Linked DNA regions of Homo sapiens: region 1 is linked to region 2. The links are contacts of gene promoters, found by promoter capture Hi-C in blood cells and fetal thymus (Javierre and others, 2016). All regions are on one chromosome and are shown on one strand. The core of a region is centred on a gene start or on the middle of the fragment in contact, and the rest is flanking DNA. Distances in the headings are between cores, read along the strand shown.

Evidence for each region. The method cuts DNA at HindIII sites, captures the fragments that hold promoters and counts their contacts. A CHiCAGO score of 5 or more calls a contact.
Region 1: a fragment that was not itself captured here is called in contact with the fragment with the promoter of MECOM-AS1 in region 2 in 1 of 17 cell types (megakaryocytes); the score reaches 5.2 in megakaryocytes.

The regions. Positions count from the first base shown.
Region 1 is chr3:169,152,937-169,157,104 of GRCh38, reverse strand. The region is part of intron 2 of MECOM (MDS1 and EVI1 complex locus); the gene reads left to right. Among named protein-coding and RNA genes, the nearest start is that of LINC01997, 150 kb to the right of the region's middle. The HindIII fragment of the contact is 2,815 bases long and covers 604-3,418 here.
Region 2 is chr3:169,445,023-169,449,163 of GRCh38, reverse strand. It overlaps MECOM-AS1 (MECOM antisense RNA 1), which reads right to left and starts at 1,297. Exons shown (of 5, transcript NR_134932.1): 1 at 1,229-1,297. All of the region lies in intron 1 of MECOM (MDS1 and EVI1 complex locus), which reads left to right. The HindIII fragment of the contact is 2,681 bases long and covers 1-2,273 here.

The sequences.
Region 1 (4,168 bases), core at 762-3,261, 290 kb after region 2:
TGCAGAGAAGACTGTGTGGTCGCTCCTATGAAATGTTCTGTTTCTCAGGATGAGTTAATTCATCTGGAACAACATTAGTTCATCAAGGTTTGTGGTTTATCTAAAGATCAAATTCCTGTAATTTTGTATGCCATCTGATTTAATGTCCAGTTAGTTTCGTGGTTAGACAGTCATGGGCAGGCATAACACATGAATCTAATATCAAAAACTGGAAAAAAGGTGAATTCTTAAAGGTTTAATTCAGGCATCCTTAGATGGAGATTGCACTGCTGCTTTTCTTTCTCCTAGGGAAATGCATATCTAGATAATGCCAAATCTTATTAAGAAAAGTCTAAATAATATAAAACATTGCATGTGAATATGCCCATGGTAAAAATCTCTGCTTTGGAAGGACTTTTAATGGAGGAGGATAGGAAGAAGTGGGTTGATCTTGAAATGAGATTGTATATATTCCTTTGGAAGGTTCTCAGGCCGTGTACTCAAATACAATTGTAATAGTTTACAGGCAAAGGATCGATTGGCTAGAGTTTACTGATAACCTACTTTCTTTGTGATCTTTATAGACTTTCCAAATGCTTTCAATTTGAATAAAATGTGGAAGCTTCATTTTGTCTTTATTTATTTATGACTGTTTTGTGGGGACTTTTTTTTATCAAGAGTTGAGAACAGTCAGTTGATAGAAAAATATATGTATGGGGAATATTTATGCTTTTCTGAAACAAAGTAATATAAAACTTTATTTACAAAATTGTTTTCCTTAGGTGTTCCAGTGGAAGAGGAGAGAGGCTTTCACATAAGTTTAATTACCTACGATGATGCCTGGTCGAATAAGCCAAATAGGTCTCTTTACTAAAGGATTTCCTAGACTTTTAGAGTTTTAGACTTAAGTGTATTTAGCACATTGGTGCTCATTGTGAAGCTCCAAGAGGGAGCTATCTTTATCCATTGGGTGAAGTTAGCTCTCTGAGTTGACCTCAGAGCCAATTTCCAGGGAATATCTGATAATAACTTTTCTAATAACCAATTAGAAAATGCTGGTGTGAAGGATGTTTCCTGCCATCAAACAGTATACAGGTAGATTGGCTGATCACAGAAATATCCCAAACTATTTTAAGAATAATGACTAATTAGTGAATGCTTTTAATATTACATACTGTAAAAATTTCAAGAAAGAGGGCCTGGAAGGCTTTGCAGGAGCTTGATGAATGGAACTATCACTTTGCCTACTTGATCTATTGTTTCATCTCCTGAACGCTGTCAGTGTCAGAGGTAAGAGAAGTGAAGGACCTACCTCAGCACAGTTGAAGGGCCAAGAGCTTCTATTCATATTTCCAGTTGTTAACCAGTGCTAAAGATTTGTGTAGAGGAAACAAGCAGGAAATGGGCCTAGAAAGACGATAAATTTGACATCAAATTGTAAAAGAGGAGATTGCATTTTGGATTAGGGGCTTTATTTTCTAGCAAATTGGGATCCATTGGAGTTTTTGTTAGTGCGGTTTTTCTTCTGTTTTTTGCTCTTTACCTTTTGTTTTTAGGTAAAGCAAAGCATTGTTATAACTTTGTTATTTTAGGAAGACTAATGTTTGGTGTAAAAATGCCACAAAAACTCAGGCCTAAAAGGACAATAGCCTTCACTAGACCAGTGCCAGTGGGAAAATGAGCACCCTGTAGAAACAGTTTAACAGACCAACTGAACCAATGACTATTTATTGGGGACAAGGGAAGGAGAGGAGTCCAAGATACTGTCCAGGATTTGTGCCCAGAGAAAGGAGAGAGATGGTAAAGAAATGGAAACATGGGGTAAGGCAAGTATGGCAATATTGTGCTATCTGGAGAGGCAGCAGTGGTAGGAATTCCTTTCTAAATCCCTGAAAAAGAATCATCACTGCATCAACTGATTCCTAAGGGGGAATAGTGTTAAGTAACCAACTTTGCTTGGATGTAAATAAAGTAATTCCCCATACATTTAGCCATAATTAATTTATTCTTACAAAAAGTCTCAAAGACAGTTTAGTTTATGATGGAAAGCTGTTATTGAAGATATCAGTAGGAACAAAACTTGATTCCGTCCTTAAAAATCTTACAATGGTCCTTAGGAGGACAAGAGCATTAAAGACACACCTGTAAGTAAGGAAGAACTGGCTATAAACCAGGAGAGAAGCACAGATAATTTGGGTTGAAGGATGGAAAGGTCAAGCCTGGGTGGTAAAAATCAGCAGACATAAAAAATGGTTGGTTTAGAAGTATAGATAAGATTTTATCTATGATAACCAAGGCAAAATAAATTATAGGCTGAGCAATAATAATGATAGCAATTAAAATTATAATAGCAATACCAATAATAATAGCTATTTTCTATTGACTATATCCTATATCCTCTTCATGATTCTAAGTGATTTACCTACATTGCCTCATTGAATTCTCAAAAAAAATGGAATGAATTTATACTGAATTGTTAGGCAATCGGAACTCACTGAAAAACTGTGAGCAAGGGAATAAGTAACAGCAGATGGTTGAGAGGATTAACATCAAGGACTTTAAACTGGTGGGAGAGTGAATGGTGGTCAGAGGATCTGGCAGGAGATCATTGCAATAATTCAGACTAGAGGTAACAGGCATCCAAATTAGGCATTCAAACTAGGTGAGAATGGAAGTCAAGGAAGGACCTGATCCATTTTTTTTTCAACAAACATCTACTAAATACTTGATGTCATGCATTATGGTAGACTCTGGGCAACAGGGGCAAAAAAGATAGACCCAATTCCTGCCCTCTTGGTACTTAAAGTCTGTCTACCAGGAGACATTGTAGAGAATAAATTTCCTGGCCTTGGTAACAAATATTGACCTAAAACTAGTCCAAGATGTGTGTGTGTGTGTTCCTACCCTCGTTTTTAGGGCTCTGGAACTCAATGGTATTCCACCTTTGCTGCAGAATACTCTCTCTTACTGACTGGCAGAGAACACAGTGGGTAGAACAGAACAAACTCAGCTGCAAGCCAGACAGAGACGGACATCTTCATGGGTAGCACAGCTTGAGAGAAAAAAAACACTTTTCTTAAAATTCTTCCCTTCCAAGGTCAGGGTAAGGATTAGGGCAACTGACACTGGAATGGAAGAAAGAGGAAACAAAACTACTTACACTTTGCTGTTCCCCAAAGTATAGGCCAGACTATCTTCCTCATTGTGCATGTATGTAAGTTTACTGTAACCCGTTACACAAACACAAATACTGTGAAACTTATAGTATTTTGACCTGTTCCCATGAACTCAGGGCAGTTCACACTCACGTTACCCAATTTATTTTCCCAACACTCGTAATAGTCTGATATTATGAAACTGTCATGGAAACCAACTCAAAGGTTAAGTGACTTACCCAAAGGTACACAGCTAGGCGTGGAGAGAGGAGGAAAATCAAGCTTCCAACAAACTTTCCCCACAAGATTATGAGTCTAAAAGCACTCTTAGATGGTGTATCTAAAGCTCGAGGGAAGAATCTGATCCTGGAGTTATTGCATAATGTGCTAAATACTATATTGAAAGATTGAATTAATTAAAATTAATAAAATAATGAAAAATGAATTCCTTATAGAGTTGAGGTTTTTTCCAAAAGCACTTACTACCTCACTAATTTAGTCCGAAGTTAAAAAGAATGAGGGATTTCACCTTTTGAGACTAATGATAATCGTAAGCAAAGTTATCTTTTATAAAATAAAAAGATAATAGTAAATTTTTCCTAGTGATATAAAACAACCAGTTGTCTGAACAACCAGATTGATATGTTATGCATTTTTTGTGACTGTCTCAGTTTTTGTATTTATTTTTTCATCATTTATTTCTTGAATATATCTTGTAATAAATACACATCAAAGAGTTAAACATCCCTACTTTTGGGAAATATTTCTCTATTGTCTCTATTTTGCTACCAAAGTTTTACAGTATTTTATTAACATTTTTATTTTATCATAATATTTTCATTTAAACTTGGTATAAATTTGTTGCTGTGCATTAACCACTCAGCATCATAGCTTAGGACTGAAACACATCAAAATAGTCCAGCAAAAAATATTTTAAATATGGCAACCTTAACTGGAGTTTAAAAAATAAAACTTTGAGTATAATAATTTATTCACCAGAGCGGTTGTTTCAGCAAAGTACTTCATCTTAGTTT
Region 2 (4,141 bases), core at 48-2,547:
AGCACAGTTCCTATTTACCATGGTATGCTTCATTTGTGCTCCATCTCTCACCTTAAAGAAAGAAAAGACCTTTCGTGATTGAGCTTCATTTGGCTTTGCTTTCAAAATGTTAAGGTCTTTATATGATGTTCTCTCTGTTGACAGATACTACTCCTGGTAGATTGGCTACAGGAGATTTTGGAGTCGTGATTTCAAATAAAATTTCAGGGTCAAAAATTTATCATGGTATGGAGGTGTCAAAATCTGGATTCCAGTGTACCTGAAGCCAAATGTATTATGGAAAGTGACATTACCTCCTTATAATAGTATTAAATATTTAATGGTACTTAAGAATTAAATGATTTTCCACCCTCCTCAAACCACCGAACAGTTGATCTCTTTCATTTATTACGGAATTGGAAATAATCAAGAGTAGTTGAGATGTGAATGCTTCATTGGAATTATGCAATGTGTTATGACAATGTCTGACTCATTATGGTTTGCTGCCATATGCAGTGAAAAAGGAAATCAGGATGCAAACTCCTCTTCCCAGGCCAGGGGTCTCACATGCACACTCCTGTGGATGCTATTCTAAAATATTTGATTAAAGATAATGTGGCTTTACCAGTACCTCTCTTGCCATAATATCCCAAATTTACAGGTGCCTTTGAAGTTAGATGTACACTGAATTAAAAATCTGGCTTTACCCCTAGTTGGATAAATTTGTTTATTAGTTACTCTGAACATCATTTTACTCCTGTGTAAAATGGTGAAAACACTGTCTTGAAGGATTGTTGTGTGGCACAAATGAGATAATGTATAGAAGATGCTTAGCATGTGATGGGCGACCTATAAATAAATACTAAGTTAGTTCTATATCTTCTTAAAATCCTGGTCAGGCACCTAAGCATTCCCACAACGTATAACACGAGTGGCATTTTACAAGATATGGTAGCAAGGCTAGTTGCTCAGTATATTAGATCAAGGAGCTCATGAGACAAATTCAATTACATGAAAATATTTTTTGAATGTCTACTATAGGTCAGGTTCCAGTGATGACCTAAAGATCACCTCACCATTGGTTGCCATCATCACTATAATAGCTTCTAATTTCTCCCCTCTCCTAGCTCTCATCCATAGCAGTTTCCAGTTGAATTTCCAAACTACAGATCTGATCACACCATGACTCCTAGTTGCCCAGCCATTTAGCACCACAAACAAGGGTTTAAATAATACACTTCTGACTTACCATTTCAGCTTCATTTCTTGCCTTCTCTTTTATGCCTATATTCCAGCTATGCAGAGTTACTCACCAATCTTTCATTTGTAGGTCACATTTGTGCTTTTTCTTTGCCTAGAATGTACTTCCTTCCACTCAACTGTCTTGGCATGGCCAAATCCTTGTTCGAGATGTATTTCAAATTTGAGCTCTGGTGTGTAGCCTTTCCAGTCTTTCCAGGTGGAGATGGTTTTTCTTCCTCTTAGTTGTTTCCTGAATACTTTGTGTGTAATAAACCACTCATCATGTTGTGCTGTAAACATCTGTTTGTGTGCTCTGCTTCCCACTATGGATTCCTTGAAGACAGTGACAGAGTTGACATTTTTACTTCTAGAAATTAACATGGTACCTGGAACACAGTAGACGCTTTATAAAGGTACTTTGTAAACATAAGAATCAATGAGAAAGGTATGATTCTGCCTTTCTTTGGACATCTCAAACTCAGAGTCAGAAAAGTTCTTGGTGGGGGGAGATAGTAGATAACCATCCACCTCTTCTTGTGATCTTAACCTACAAAGCCTCACATCCTGCATTATTCATCTGTTCCCTCCCCCAGTCAACTAAAATTTACAAAATGCCTGCTTTGCCTGGCCACCTTCTAGCTACTGAATGAGAAGGTGCATTTTTATAGGAGAAGATGGAGGTGGAGCAGGAGAACTCTAGGGCATGGGTGGCAGAGGGCACCAATAAGACTTAATTCTTCCACCCTTGGGAATTGTAGACATCTTCACAAGGGGTCAAGAAATTGGGTGGTTCAGAGCAATTTCTTTTACATCTCAAGGATGAGGACGACTTGAACTAATGTAGAATCTTCTAGATTGTAGATAAAATGAAGGAGTTGGATTTCAATATTTTACAATGAGGATCCCTTTTCATAACATAAAAAATTCTTAGACCTGTAAGTATTTATTTGTTGACAAAATTATACTGAAAAAAATAACTGAAAATTCAGTAACTGTTAATTAATTTTCCACTTAGTGAACCACAATGGCATGTGCAGGGAGTGCCTAAAGCTTGGTGCACCCCCTGAACAAGCCATCCTGATAGGGATGAGGGCAGTAGCACTGCATAGTCATTAGGAGCATGGGCTTTTGAATCAGGCAGACTTGGGTTCAAATCTTGGTTCTGACACCAGGTATATGATCATGAGAAGCTCTCTCAGTCTTTATTTCCTTAACTGAAAAAACAGTAATAGTGACCTCACAGTGGGTGCAGGTGTGGGATTTAAGATAATAAAGGTAGATAAAGATAACGCACAACACACATAACTACTACCCACTTAATTATCAGGAAAGGGAGGGTAGCTTAGCAAGTTCTATGATGTAAACTCAGGGCAAGGTGGCTCTGTGGAAGACCAGGCTTATTTGTGTAGCGTGGAGAGTGTCTGTATTAGTTCGGTTTTATGCTGCTGATAAAGACATATCTGAGACTAGGAAGAAAAAAAGGTTTAATTGGACTTACAGTTCCACATGGCTGGGGAAGCCTCAGAATCATGGCAGGGCAAGTGGCAAGAGAAAATGAGGAAGAAGCAAAAGCGGAAACTCCTGATAAACCCATCAGATCTCGTGAGACATAGTCACTATCATGAGAGTAGCAAGGGAAAGACTGGCCCCCATGATTCAATTACCTCCCCCTGGTTCCCTCCCACAACACGTGGGAATTCTAAGAGATACAATTCAAGTTGAGAGTTGGGTGGGGACACAGCCAAACCATATCATTCCACCCATGGCCCCTCCAAATCTCATGTCCTCACATTTCAAAACCAATCATGCCTTCTCAATGGTCCCCCAATGTCTTAACTAATTTCAGCATTAACTCAAAAGTCCACAGTCCAAAGTCTCATCTGAAACAAGGCAACTCCCTTCCACCTATGAGCCTGTAAAATCAAAAACAACCTAGTTGCTTCCTAGCTACAATGGGGGTACAGGTATTAGGTAAATACAGCCATTCCAAATGGGAGAAACTGGCCAAAACAAAGGGGTTACAGGGCCCATGCAAGTCCAAAATCCAGTGGGGTAGTCAAATTTAAAGCTCCAAAATGATCTCCTTTGAATCCAGGTCTCACATCCAGGTTACACTGATGCAAGAGGGGGTTCCCATGGTCTTGGGCAGCTCTGCCCCTGTGGCTTTGCAGGGTAGAGCCTCTCTCTTGACTGCTTTTATGGGCTGGCACTGATTGTCTGCAGCTTTTCCAGGTGCACAGGGCAAGCTGTCGGTGGATCTACCATTCTGGGGTCTGGAGGATGGTGGTCCCCTTCTCACAGCTCCACTAGAAAGTGTCCCGGTAGGGACTCTGTGTGGGGGCTGTGACCCCACATTTCCCTACTGCACTGCCCTGGCAGAGGTTCTCCATGAGGGCCCCGTCCCTGCAGCAAACTTTTGCCTGGGCATCCAGGCATTTCCATACGTCTTCTAAAATCTAGGCAGAGGTTCCCAAACCTCAATTCGTAACTTCTGTGTACTCACAGGCTCAATGCCACTTGGAAGCTGCCAAGATTTGGGGCTTCCACCCTCTGAAGCCACAGCCCAAGCTCTATGTTTGTTCCTTTCAGCCATGGCTGGAGTGGCTTGGACACAGGGCACCAAATTCCTAGACTACAAACAGCATGGGGACCCTGGGCCCACCCACAAAACCACTTTTTCCTCCTGAGCCTCCAGGCCTGTGATGGGAGGGGCTGCCATGAAGGTCTCTGACATGGCCTGGTTACATTTTCCCCATGGTCTTCCTACTTATGCAAATTTCTGCAGTTGGCTTCAGTTTCTCCTCAAAAAATGGGTTTTTCTTTTCTACTGCATCATCAGGCTGCAAATTTTCTGAACTTTTATGCTCTGTTTACCTTTTAAAATGGAATGCTTTTAACAGTACCCAAGTCACCTCTTGAA